Linked DNA regions of Homo sapiens: all the other regions are linked to region 2. Evidence: promoter capture Hi-C in 16 types of primary human blood cells and fetal thymus (Javierre and others, 2016). All regions are on one chromosome and are shown on one strand. The core of a region is centred on a gene start or on the middle of the fragment in contact, and the rest is flanking DNA. Distances in the headings are between cores, read along the strand shown.

What was found. Contacts are between HindIII fragments. The CHiCAGO score rates a contact against its expected background, and 5 or more counts as called.
Region 1: a contact is called between a fragment that was not itself captured here and the fragment with the promoter of YME1L1 in region 2, in 1 of 17 cell types (erythroblasts). The highest score is 5.0, in erythroblasts.
Region 3: a fragment that was not itself captured here is called in contact with the fragment with the promoter of YME1L1 in region 2 in 2 of 17 cell types (naive B cells and monocytes); the score reaches 6.2 in naive B cells.
Region 4: a contact is called between a fragment that was not itself captured here and the fragment with the promoter of YME1L1 in region 2, in 2 of 17 cell types (naive B cells and monocytes). The highest score is 5.5, in naive B cells.
Region 5: a contact is called between a fragment that was not itself captured here and the fragment with the promoter of YME1L1 in region 2, in 1 of 17 cell types (total B cells). The highest score is 5.5, in total B cells.

What each region holds. Positions count from the first base shown.
Region 1 is chr10:28,547,691-28,550,390 of GRCh38, reverse strand. The region is part of intron 3 of WAC (WW domain containing adaptor with coiled-coil); the gene reads right to left. Among named protein-coding and RNA genes, the nearest start is that of WAC, 16 kb to the right of the region's middle. The HindIII fragment of the contact is 4,092 bases long and covers 1-2,700 here.
Region 2 is chr10:27,153,129-27,155,828 of GRCh38, reverse strand. YME1L1 (YME1 like 1 ATPase) reads left to right here and starts at 1,445. Exons shown (of 19, transcript NM_014263.4): 1 at 1,445-1,651. The coding sequence starts at 1,619. MASTL (microtubule associated serine/threonine kinase like) reads right to left here and starts at 477. Exons shown (of 12, transcript NM_001172303.3): 1 at 217-477. The coding sequence starts at 402. RefSeq lists enhancers at 1-35, 656-715 and silencers at 390-588, 386-595. The HindIII fragment of the contact is 10,812 bases long and covers 1-2,700 here.
Region 3 is chr10:28,583,618-28,586,317 of GRCh38, reverse strand. The region is part of intron 4 of WAC (WW domain containing adaptor with coiled-coil); the gene reads right to left. Among named protein-coding and RNA genes, the nearest start is that of WAC, 52 kb to the right of the region's middle. The HindIII fragment of the contact is 2,083 bases long and covers 403-2,485 here.
Region 4 is chr10:28,608,053-28,610,752 of GRCh38, reverse strand. WAC (WW domain containing adaptor with coiled-coil) reads right to left here. Exons shown (of 14, transcript NM_016628.5): 8 at 2,322-2,567; 9 at 1-54. Among named protein-coding and RNA genes, the nearest start is that of BAMBI, 68 kb to the left of the region's middle. The HindIII fragment of the contact is 3,181 bases long and covers 1-2,700 here.
Region 5 is chr10:28,525,944-28,528,643 of GRCh38, reverse strand. WAC-AS1 (WAC antisense RNA 1) reads left to right here. Exons shown (of 3, transcript NR_033805.1): 2 at 2,636-2,696. Among named protein-coding and RNA genes, the nearest start is that of WAC-AS1, 5.1 kb to the left of the region's middle. The HindIII fragment of the contact is 907 bases long and covers 976-1,882 here.

The DNA.
Region 1 (2,700 bases), core at 17-2,516, 1.4 Mb before region 2:
TTGGCAAAGGAAAAAAAAAAAAGGTGAGGTAGGAGTGGAGAGAGGACAATTTTGGCTATGAAAACACATACAATGGGACAACAGCATAAAAAAAAAAAAGATGCCTAGGACTGGGTAAGTGCTTTTACATGACTAGATTATAGAGAAGGCAGAGAGTGGCTGAGAAAAGAGTAATGTGAACTTTGGGTAATGGTGGCTCATAAAACAAACTTTTTTTTTTTTTTGAGACTGAGTCTTGCATTATCACCCACTGGAGTGCAGTGGTGTGATCTCCGCTCACCGCGACCTCCATCTCCCAAGTTCAAGCGATTCTCCTGCCTCATCAGCCTCCCGAGTAGCTGGGATTACAGGTGCTGGCCACCACACCCAGCTAACTTTTTGTATTTTTAGTAGAGATAGGGTTTCAACCATGTTTGGCCTGGCTGGTCTTGAATTTCTGACCTCGTGATCCATCCACCTCGGGACCTCAAACTGCTGGGAGTACAGGTGTGAGCCACTGCGCCTGGCCAAAACTTAAAACTCTTTAAACTTCAAGTTATATTTATACAAGCCAGAAACCTAGTCTGAGATGCTAACTTTCAGGCATGGACATAACAGTTCATTTCAGTGGCCTCTTATGTACATTAGATAAGAAAATGTATCTGATAAGTATATGTGGAAGCGGAGAGAAAAACTCATTTTTGGACAACTGTCATCAATACAACATAATTAAGACCTATAAAATTCAGGCTTTCAGGGTTAATGAAAAGAGTATGTTTAAATTTGTAGTTAATTTTTACTCAGCTGCGGGTAAAGAATGAGACAACAGGTCTGTAAACAAGATATTGCAATATTTTAAAACAGGGCAATGAGTTCTGGAAGTTGCCCATAAACACAGGAAAAAAGAATCAGGGACAACTTCCCAGGCATTAATCAGGACAGGGAATAGCCAAATTAGAAAAAGATTTAGGAAGATTATCTATAGAACATTAGGTGGTGGCTGTCCAATAAGCAAAGAGATATGTAGGCCTGAAAATCAAAGGATTAAAAGAAGCATGAGATACCCACAGCTATACCCAGGTAGGGTATGAAAACTGAGAAAGCAGCAAAGACAGAACACCTCAGAAAAAGTAACTTTTGAGTCACGGCTCAAGCATGAGATTAAAACAGCAGCACAGAAAGGAAAGCCAACACCATAAAAAATCAAAAACTTGTCTGGATGTGGTGGCTCACACCCATTATCCCAGCACTTTGGGAGGCTGAAGCAGGAGGATTACTTAAAGCCAGGAGTTCAAGACCAGCCTGGGTAACATGGTAAAACTCTGTCTCTATAAAAAATGCAAAAATTAGCCAGAAGTGGCAGCATATGCCTGCAGGCTCAACTACTTGGGAGGTTGTGGCAAGAGGATCACTTGAGCCCAGGAGTTTTTTTGAGGCTGCAGTGAGCCATGACCATACCAGTGCACTCCATTCAGCCTGGGTGACAGGACAAGACTCTGCCTCAAAAACAAAACCAAACCAAAAAAAAACTACAAAAATTGAGTTTCTTAGCTGCACTAGCCACATTTCAAATGCTCAATATACACGTAGCTGGTGGCTACCACACTGGACAGCTCAGACAGCAAACATTTTCAACCATATATTCTATTTGATAGAGTTGACCTAGTCTCGTATTCCCAAACATGAATAGACAACTATGAACAGCAAGCATCTGAGGAACCCAGTAACACGGGTATGATGCACCAAACTCAACCAGAAAAACATATATTTAACATGAAAAAAACTAAAAAATAACCCAAATTCTCAAGAGTATTTCTAGTAAATCAGTTATAAAATCACAAAAAGCTATGAAAAAAGCACAGCACCCAAAATAAAACTTGGAATAGGTGGATGAAATGAACACAGCTTTAATTATCAGGGGGTTGAAAGAAGATGCCAAGAGATTCTCCCCAGAGTGGAGTGTACACTTAAAAATTATCTAACTACTGTACTTACTATTTACCAGGCAAAAGAGAAGTAGAATAGAACCAAAAAACATCTAACAGGAGTTCTAAAAGGAGAAAAGTTAGAAACAAGTAAAAGAGAAGAAAAAAAGAGTGTGGAAGATGACTCTCTAACGGATAGGGTTAGACAAAAAGGCACTAAGCATTCAGGGTATTGTCCAGGGTCTTTAGAAAATTAAAATGTTGGCCGGGCGTGGTGGCTCACTCCTGTAAATCCCAGCACTTTGGGAGGCAGAGGCAGGTGGATCACCTGAGGTAAGGAGTTCAAGACCAGCCTGGCTAACATGGTAAAACCCTGTTTCTACTAAAAATAAAAAAAAATTAGCCAGGCATGGTGGCACGCACCTGTAATCCCAGCTACTCGGGAGGCTGAGGCAGGAGAATCCCTTGAACCCGGGAGGCGGAGATTGCAGTGAGCCAAGATTGCGCCACTACACTCCAGGTTCAGCAACAAGAGCGAAACTCTCTCTCAAAGAAGAAAAAAAAAAAAAAAGAAAAAGAGAAAGAAAATTAAAATGTAATTAAAAAATTAAAATGCACTAATTAGAAGTAACGAAAAAAGGCCTACACTTACAAAGTGAGATTTGTGAAGTTTTAGATCCAAGGATAAAGAAGGAAAAACTCTAAATTTTCAAGCTGGGTAGGAGAGTAAATTAGGAGTCATACATCCCAATGGGTATCTATCCATGAAAAAGAACCAGGTTTGATTTTTAGAAAT
Region 2 (2,700 bases), core at 196-2,695:
TGAGATATGGAGGGAAGGGCGGAACAGAGGCGAGACACCCGACCCGACCGCTGATGTCGCCCCAAAAAGAAGTCAGCTCGCAGGGCTCTGGAGGCTTCAGCAAGCCAGGCCACCCAGACTCCTCGCTCCAGCAACCCCGGGGCCTGCCCAAGCCGGTGGGGCAGGAAGGAGGGCCGAAGGGCCTAACCCCTTCCTTGCTACTCGTTGACTTCCTACCTTTACTGCATACAATTTGCCGCCTTTCTGCCCCAGATACACTTTCCCGAAGGCGCCCCGGCTAATGGGCTTCACTATGCTGAATTCCTCAATGGAGGGCGGTTTTGGCACTGCGATCCTATTCACGCCCTCCTCAGTCGCCGCGCCTCCTCCAGGCTCCTTCTTGCTTCCCGCGGTGGGATCCATCGCTGGACAGCATACAGCGGCCCCGCAGACACTGCCCCTCCGCGAGCAGCCACTCCCGCCAACTGGGTTCAAAGTGAGGCTCCGCCCACGCCGCGCGCGGCCGTGACGTCACCCCGCCGCCGCGCCCCGCCCTCGTCACCTCCCCTACGCAGACGCGGACGGAGGGGGCGTCGGGAAAGCCCCGACTTCGCAGCCTTACACTCTTCGTGGGCGGCGACCGCGGCCCCACTGACATCATTCCTCATGAGGGAGGAGGCACAAACAGTTCTGGGCCGACCAGAAAAAGGACGACTGGGACTTGACTCTGAATCGCAGGATTTGAAGAGATTTCTCCTGGCTTCCCAACGAGGCTGGTGGGAAGCGGTCCTCCTCCCATACACGACCTCCCACCCTCGCGAGGCGTAGAAACCAGTTCTGACTGTACAGTAAAGCGAGGGCCAGGGCTGAGGTCTGGAAGCTAATGAAAGCACAGAAAGTGTCGAAACTGGATGAGCAGGAAGCGAGTGGCCTCCCCTGTCATCTGACGTTTTCCCAGGATGTAATTTGCCTGACTGAAACAGATCAGGACCAACAGGGAGAGTTTTCGATTTAGTGTGAGGAAAAGAGCACTAAATTGTAGCAAAAGACCTTATTGCTCAAGGCCCAGTCAGAAGATTTCATAAGGAAGCTGTAGAAAGTCTTAAGAGGAAATCAGCCGGGCGTGGTGGCGGGCACCTGTAATCCCAGCTACTCGGGAGGCTGAGGCAGGAGAATCGCTTGAACCCGGGGAGCAGAGGTTGCAGTGAGCCGAGATCGCGCCACTGTACGCCAGCCTGGGCGAAAGAACGAAACTCCGTCTCCAAAAAAAAAAAAAACGAAGAAAAAGTCCAAAGAGGGTAAAGGCTGTTCTCCCCTTAAAAAACAGCTAAAGACCTTTGGGGGCGCTGCTCCTTGTAAATGTCAACTACTTCCGCGGGAAAGAACGCGCAGGCACTTGGCCTTGTGGGCGCTCACTTGCCCCGGAAGTACTGTTGAGTTAGCGCCTCGCCTTCCGGGGCGGATTGTCTGTCGTTGCAGTAGCTGTAGGAAGGGGAGGCCATTTTCCGTTTCTGGGAGGAGTGAGGGGCAACGGGTCGGAGAAAAAGGAAAAAAGAAGGGCTCAGCGCCTCCCCGCCGGGCCGTGGACAGAGGGGCACAGTTTCGGCAGGCGGGTGAGGTCGCTGAGGGCCCGCCGGAGATGTTTTCCTTGTCGAGCACGGTGCAACCCCAGGTAAGCCAGGCATTCAGCCCATTTTTTTTCCTCCCGCCCTGCCCGTGGCTGTTTGCAAATTGCGCTCGTGGAAGCGATTTCTCAGAAGGGACTCTAGAAATGAAGTGATGTACTCAATGCGAATCCCAGGATTGAGGAGTGGATCAGGGGACGACGCTGAGAGTGGGCCGGAGACTTCAGTGCTGACGATGAAGCTGTTGAGGGCAGAGGCGGGATGTGAGCTCAGTGATAGAGAGAGACCCTGGCTTATCGAACTGATTGCGTGGAATTTCTGCTAGAGAATCCGTCCGGCATTGTTCAGTGTCCGGCGTTCTGGGGTGGGAAAATGTCTGTACCATACATTAAAGGGAGCAGGTAATGTTCCCTTTTTTCCGACTTTCCAGTGGCTTTAGTGTTCACAGCCCCTATCCCCTGCTCTTTATTTCCTTTTAAATGGAATTTAAATTTAACCCAAACATGGTATAATATTTCGGATGGCCAGCCATGCAAGTTTTTTTCTCATTTTGACCAGAAGTAACTAAAATGTGTATTTCCGAGTCGTAAACTGTTTGCAGTTAAAATTTTGATTCAGCCTCATCCTCATCGTTTTGTAAAACAAAAGGTAGTGAAGAGAAAAATGATTTCAAGGGTTTTCATTACGCTCTTGGGCAATCACTTGTGACAATGTTTTATTCTTGCTTCATTCCAGTCTCTTTTTTTGATGGTAACATTTTAATAGATTTTTTGAGAGTTCCTACAGTTTTGCAAAGAAATAGTTTTTAAAACATTGAGTTTTTTTAAAACATAATTTTTAAGAAAATCGACACTCTTAGGTTCTTGATTTAAGCATATGATTGTGTTCCTTTGTGTAACTTTTACTCCCCCTCATTTTAAGAATTTTTAATTTTTTGTGCTAGTACTGGCTAACAAACTGAAGCAGCTGCTTGTTATTGGGCATCAGTTATGTACCAGGTGAGCAAAGCAAATGTGGAATCTTCTCTTAATATTGATATGAAGTAAATATGAGTAGGACTTAGCAAGGTGAAGAGTGAACAGGTATCACAGGCATA
Region 3 (2,700 bases), core at 195-2,694, 1.4 Mb before region 2:
ACACCCCACAATAAATGTTTATCAGAGGACTTAGCAGGGAAGTACATTAAATGTTAACGCCTTAATCTGATACTGAAAATAAAAGATAATTTCAACTTGGTTTTTAATAGTTAACTTGATTTTAAAAAATCACCCACATACCCAAATATCTGTGTAGATAACTCTAAAGCCAACTTTTCAGGTAAGATTAAATTTACAGTTCATAAGGGCTGTTTGTATCATTCCCACTAGGTACATTATAATGCAAAAGACCACTACTTATGCACCTACAGGTGAAATCTAGAGAAACCAGAACGCGGATTCCAGAAACACAAAACATTTTATCTATTCTAGTAATGGTCTTCAACTTTCACTCACATAATTAAGTTCCCTGACACCCTTATGATTTGAATCATTCAAGCTTATCTACGCCCATTATTTATTCTTTCTGACTTCACTGGGTTAAACCCACTGCTGTAAAATCCTAATAATCAAAGTTTGTCTTCCCTGAATGAGGTGTTTGTTTTGTTTGCATTTGTGTTTTACAAAATAAAAAAAAAACAATGCCCACAAGGGCTGCTGCTGTCCTAGGAGTAGACAAATAGCAAATCTAAACTGTCAATGACAAGTGGAACTTTAGGTTAGTGTTACTTTGTAAAGTAATAGACTGTTTTCCAGGAAAACAGGCAGATTCATTCTAAAATCCTGAATATACATCTCACTGAAAATGATTTGCCCCCCCTTCTCCCCACTTGGCCTCATCCTCCCTTCCCTACTTGGAAAAAAAAAAAAAAGAAAGGAAAAAGAAAATGACCCATCACAAATAGTTTGACGATAGCACGCGTGAAGGCTTAGCGAGCTGTTTTCTCAGTCCCAGTCCCACCCTTTGATAGTCCGCTCTGTGATGCTAGAGCTGGGACAGTGCAAATTACTCTCTATTTAGCCAGATGGCTTCCTTCCTCTTAGAAGCATTAGACGAATGAAAGGCAGGAGAAAGGAGCAGCCGCCGTTGTTACCAGCTCTCGGCTACCATCCCACCACTAGAACTAGCTTCACCATACCCTCAGAGGTATTACTACCAGCTCTGTGGGGCTCCTCCTCTATGCTACTGGGTTCTAAAACCCCAAATTCATCCGGTTGTTCAATAGCCTTGAGTGGTGATTACTGTATGTGTTACCTGAGGGTTCCTTTGTTTTTTTTCAGTATCTGCTTAACCAATCCCATATATTAAATTCTGTGTTAAAACAATTAACATGATTTTCTTTTCTTTTTTGAGACAGTCTTGCTCTGTCACCCAGGCTGGAATGCAATGGGGTGATCTTGGCTCACTGCAACCTCCGCCTCCCAGGTTCAAGTAATTCTCCTGCCTCAGCCTCCCAAGTAGCTGGGATTACAGGTGCTTGCCACCATGCCAGGATAACTTTTGTATCTTTAGTAGAGATGGGGTTTCACCATCTTGGCCTCAAGTGATCCACCCGCCTTGGCCTCCCAAGTGCTAGGATTACAGGAGCGAGCCACCGTGCCTGGCCAATAGTATAATTTTCTAAATGGACACTAATACTATCTATTTTTATCCAAATATTATCCTAATGTCTCAATTTTCTATGGAAATGTACTATCCACACTGCTTCAACAAGAAACAAAAATAAAATCTGAAGGTCTTTCAACGTCAATTAAGACATGATGATCACTCAAATACTCAAAGCAAAATCAGTTGGACTCAACCTACACCTTTGTCAGCCTTCTCATTGTTCATTCTTTCCTATATTTCCACACTGCTACCCGAGATAATTTTTTAAATTGCAAATATGATGTTATTTTACTGATTATATCCTTCAATACCTCTCCACTGCCTTATATATGTATAATTAATATTCCTTGGCATGACATAGAGCTTCTTATGATATGCCTCCCACTTACCTCTGTAACTTTAGCTCCTGCCATTTTTCCACACTGTCAAAATTCTGGCAGTTCTCTAACCGTGCTACACTATTTTACACTTCTACATCGTTGCAAGCTCTATTCCTTTGTATGCTATGAAGTCCAGAGCTCTTTTACTGCCCAAGTTTTAGTCAGCCTGTTGGGAAGCATTAGTTATACTTTACTATCTTCCTCACCCAAGCTGGGAGTCCTGTGTTGAGCACCCTCCAAAGCAACTTTAACAGGCACTATTTGTTTACTTTTCTGTCTCTACCACAGGTCCCAGAATTCCTTTAAGATGGGCCACATTCCATATATATGCAGCTTAGCATATGCCTGGTGAATTAAAACCTTATTAATTTTTTGCTGAATTAAAAATTTCATTTAAACCTATGACTTAAAATTCAAAATAAATAACTTATTTCATTAAACTAAACTTCTGAAAATATTTAAAATCCCTCACTGGGTTTCACACCCTTGTGGACAGGTAACTGTATATCCCTAGCGTCTGGGAGAGTGTGTAAGACACAGTAGATAATAAATGTATCCTATAAGGAGTTTATACACTATGGAAAGAAAGTAAGCTTAACTTAGACCACTTTAAAGAAGTTTCAGCCTGAAGTTCTTTTTATCTCAGATATCACAACAGAAAAACATTGCTTTGTACAGGAATCCTAATTAAGTAATACCAAAGATACTATCTTCTGACAACTCTTCAGTTCCATTAATAAGCTTGGCTCATTGGTTTAAAATAGGATAATAATAATATCAAATAAACACATTAAGACTGTGATTGAAACA
Region 4 (2,700 bases), core at 77-2,576, 1.5 Mb before region 2:
GAAACTTATGAATTATAGACTGCAGTGAGGCTTGTGTCACAGCTGCTGTAAGAACTAAAAACATATTATTTCATACATTCATATAAAAACAAGAGGCTTATGTGGCATTAGTAACAACCTGACAAGGAAGAGAACTCACAAGAAACTGGAATATTTCAACCTAGAACTCTCAAAATAAAAGCCTACTAGATAGGAGTAATACAATGGGTCCCAAATTTGAAATGATCTGAGGCAGAGAAAAAGAAACTTAATGGGTTTACAATAAAGGTAAACCAACAGAGTTTCTTTTACACTAATTAAGATGATCACCTGAACAAAGTCTCTCTACAAAATTTAACGAGTGTTCACAGGAACTTCCAATTATGTCAGAAACCTATTCATATGTGAGTGTTCAGTATGTTATATGGAATTAACTGGATAAACAACTGCTATTTCATGTGATTGCCCTTTTAGACAAGCTGGCCATTCAAATCCTATATCAAGATCCACCCTAATAAATCTAAAAATGGATACAAAAAAGGGAGTATTGGCCGGACATGGTAGCTCACACCCAGCACTTTGGGAGGCTGAGGCAGGTGGATCGCCTAAGGTTAGGAGTTCAAGAGCAGCCTGCCCAACATAGTGAAACCCTGTCTCTACTAAAAATACAAAAAATTAGCTGGGCATAGTGGCAGGTGCCTGTAATCCCAGCTACTAGGGAGGCTGAGGCAGGAGAATCGCTTGAACCTGGGAGGCAGAGGTTGCAGTGAGCCGGGATTGCACCACTGCACTCCAGCCTGGGCAACAAGAGCAAAAACTCCATCTCAAAAAAAAAAAAAAAAAAAAAGTATTTAGGAATACCATGTATTTTTGATGTGTAAGATATTTTATTATTGACATTAACTATTATTTCTTCAACTATTTATTTTGGAGACAGGGTTGTGCAATCACAGCTTACCATAGCCTTCACCTTCCAGGCTTAAGTTATTCTCCCACCTCAGCCTCCCAAGTAGCTGGAACTACAGGCGTTCACCACCACACCTGGCTAAGTTTTTGTATTTTTAGTAGAGATGGGGTTCACCATGTTGCCCAGGCTGGTCTGGGCTTAAGTGGCCCACCAGCCTCAGCAAGTGCTGGAATTACAGGCATGAGCCACTGCATCTGGCCTCCTCAAACTATCTAAAAGCCCCACTTTGCCTAAATGAAACATTTACCTACCACACAAGAGAACTGCGTGGTTAGAGAATAAAATAAAAATACAAAAAAATTAAGGACAGTAAGAACAGACTAATGACCAACTAGCCTGAGATAGCTTTATTTTTAGGATAAGAACTTAACCACTTAACACTACTTTTAAGTATATTATGTGAAAATGTACATAAAAATTGATCACTTTATTTTTATTTATTTTGAGATGGGGTCTTGCTCTGTCAGCCAGGTTGGAGTGTACAGGCACCATCTCAGCTCACTGCAACCTCCGTCTCCTGGGTTCAAGCGATTCTCGTACCTCAGCCTCCCGAGTAGCTGGGATTCACAGGCATGTGCCATCACGCCTGGTTAACTTTTGTATTTTTATTAGAGATAGCGTTTCACCATCTTGGTCAGGCTGGTTTCAAACTCCTGACCTCAGGTGATCCACCCGCCTCGGCCTAAAAATTTATCATTTTCAACAGAAAATTTTGCAGTGCTTTTAGGAATTAACGTGTGAATCTGAATAGTTTCCAAATTAACACATCTACTTTTATTCATACTTTTTCAAAGTGGCTGACTAAATATTCTGAAACGTAAGTAGCATTACTGAAAAGCAAGGCTGGAATTAAATAATGCAATTCACCAGGAAAAAAATGGCAACATTTTATCTAGTACCTATCTCCTCCCTTCTCAGAATTTTTTGAAAGTATTTTAAGTAGCTACCTGAATTCCTACTTTTCTAGTAATTAGCATATTTTAAATATTCTGAGTAATTATTTATACAGGTTTTTTAGAAACATACCAGAAGTTTTAATACCGATTTCAACAAACGCTCGATTGTTTTAATGTAAAATTTCACCATACACATTATGTATATAGAATGGCTTACCTCCAGTAACTACCAGACACATAACAAGTATTGAAAAATATACACAAGATCCAAGCACCACTAACTCAATTATACTACCAATGGTCTTAAACTACAGTGGATATAAATTTCCAAACTCCAAAAACAAAAAACAAAACAAAAAAAAGTGTTCAACTATAAATTTCAAAAGAAAACAAAGACCATTCCTAAACTGGGGATTTTACTACTTACATAACTTTGCACAATGCAAATAAATTTTTAAAAAACTGTTATGAAGATTTACCTTCATTTATTTTAGATATGTCCACATTAGAATTATTAAGCTGCAGCGTGGCTTGCAAAGCAGGAAGCAATTGTCTAAGAAGATTTGGGTCCTGAAGTAAGGGAGGTATTGGCGACTGTGGAACAGGAGAAACAGGGACCGCTGAAGCAGATGTTGGAGGTGCAGATGTGGGGTTCAGTCCAGAGGCAGAAGACGTGGAAGGAGTTGTGCAAGAATGTGATACGGGTTTGTCTCCTGATGTAGATTCTAAATAAAAAGATAATCAGCCTGAAAAATTACCTGAATAGAGAAAATTGGAACAAACATCAAAGGAACACCTCTCATGTGCCAGGCACCTAACGTAAGTAATCTCATTTAACCCTTACACACTGGAGCACAC
Region 5 (2,700 bases), core at 180-2,679, 1.4 Mb before region 2:
CCATATTTCAACCTGTAGACTGAATACATACCAACCAATAGAGGGGAAAAACTATCAACTCATAGGTTATATATAGGTTGACCAAGATTTTAATGTGATTCTATTGAAGGAAGAACTGAAGGAAGAACCAAAAAGTGAAATCCTCAAGCCTCTAGTTGTGAAAGGGATTTTTTTTTTTTTTTTGAGACAGAGTCTGACTCTATAGCCAGGCTGGAGTGCAGTGGTGTGATCTCAGCTCCCTGCAGCCTCCACCTCCCGGGTTCAAGCGATTCTCCTGCCTCAGCCTCCCAAGTAGCTGGGACTATGGGTGCGTGCCACCACACCCAGCTAATCTTTGTGTTTTTAGTAGATGGGGTTTCACCATGTTGGCCAGGATGGTCTCGATCTCTTGACCTTGTGACCTGCCACCTCCGCCTCCCAAAGTGCTGGGATTACAGGCGTGAACCACCACGCCTGGCCAAAAGGGACTTTAAAAAGCTTTGTTGCAATTTCTAAAACATCATAAGGATATATTTCCAAAAATTTTCACATACTTCATTTCTATCTCTTTTTTCTCTGTCCTTGCCTTCCTCACAAACTCAGCCTAGTATAGTGATTAAAAGCGTGGGTTTTAGAATCAGTATGACATTGCGTAGAGCTCAGGCTACATTATTGACTACCAACATCACCTTGGGCAAATTACTAGTCTTGAGGATTATCCTGCTTTGTCTCTAAACTTCACTTAATAGGGTATAGTACTGTTTGTGAAAAGTAATTGAAATTGTGTAAATAATTTAGCAGTACCTGGCACATACATGTTTCGCTACTGGTGGTTATTCATTTTGAAAAAATAGTATTGAAGTTCTGCGTATCAAGTCTTAGGAACATAGTGTTAAGCAAAGTCACTTGGGTTTTGCTCTTATGGAGTTTGTATTTTAAGAATAATACATAACTAAAAGGAGATGCTTTGGGATCTCAGATTTGTGATATGAAGCTTTCATTCAATTATGACGAAAAATAAGAAACTGCAACAAAAATTACTATCTAGGAAAGGGGAGTAAACACCAGGACGTCACCATATCAACATATGGTACTAGGCAGGGATGATGTAAATAATGCAATCAACAGATCTTGGGAGAATTACTTACTGACTCAAGATTGGCCATTTTTTAAAGTTCTTCCAAGTAATAGATACTAAAGTTCAGCTAATATTGAGAAGCATACCCTAAACCCTTTACCTGTGTCTGGCGAAACTTCAACCTGAGTTAATCCAACCATTCATTTTCTGAGCACCTCTGAGCAGTTGCATGCTGCTGAAGATTATAAAATAATAGAATATACTGATTCCACTTAAGCCTCATCATCACCAAAATCAAATGACATAGTAATTTAGAAAGTAATAAGTGCTACAGAGAACAGTAGGTAAAGTGTTGGATGGAGGAGTAATGTTTTCAAGTAGAGTGGTTATTGAGCACATGGCGTTTGAGCAAAGATTTGAAGGTGATGAGGTAGCAAGCTATACAGGTGTCTGGAAAGGAATGTTTCTGGCAAAGGGGACAGCAAGAGCAAAGGTCCTGAGGAAAGACTGCCTAATGTGTTCAGAAATAATAAGGAAAGCTCTGTGATTGAAGGGCAGTGACTGAGAGGGAAAATATTAGGAAATGAGGTGAGGTTAAAGAAGTGGGTGGAGGAACAGACTGTGAAGAATCTTATAGGCCATTATAAGAAGATTGGCTTTTATTCTGAGTTAATTGGGAAGCCATTGAAAAGTTATGAGCAGAAAATGACATGGCTACTGTGTTGAAAATATCTGTATTGCAAGGCAAGGAGCAGGGAAACCAGTTAGGATCCTACAGCATTGCCTAAGTGCTTCAGGTTACTGTTTCAAAGCGGAAAGTAAGCTTCTCATCTAAGGCCATTTTCTCTATCTGTCCTTTCTTGCCACCCCCCCTTCAGTTCACCTTATATTATCAATTATCCCTTCCTTTGTATATTCAAACTCTCTTTCATCTGGATTATTTCCACTGATCTTTAAACATAATAAATCCTACCACCAGAAAACCCTTTCTTGACCGTATACTCTTAACTGCTCACTTCAGCCAAACATCTGCTAAGTCTTATTTGTGGTACCTCACTTGTTTCATTCTTTACTCTCGTATTGACATTTTAGGTCACTATTGTTTGACATCTGCCCCCGTAATATTAGCAAAATAGATTTCCCTGAGGCAGTAGTTCTTAAAGAGGCAGTGCTGAGTCTCCAGGGGGCATTTGGAAATGTGTGGCAGTATTTTTTTTTTTTATCACTGCTATATTTTCAGTATGACTTAAGGGTGAAGGGTGCTACAGATATTTAGTTACCAGAAGTCAAAGATGCTAAACATGTAGCAATGCGTAGGACAGTTCTTTATATTTAAGACTTGTCCTGCTCAAAATACCAATGTTGTCTCATTTAGAAATAGTGTTAAGGTCACAGGTCACAAACAACTTCTTTGCACCTATGTTTAATGAACATTTTTTTCACTCTTTCTTAATCTCAGAATATTTGACATTGATAGTGCCTCCCTTTGCGTTGCCCTTCTCTCTCGCCTTCTATGGCACAACACATTTTGTATTTTCTTCTTCCTTCTCTGACTGCTCCTCTCATTACTTTTCACAGAGTCGTCCTTGTCTACTCCACTACCAAATGTTGAAGTTCTTCAAGAATCAGTCCTTTGGAGGTGA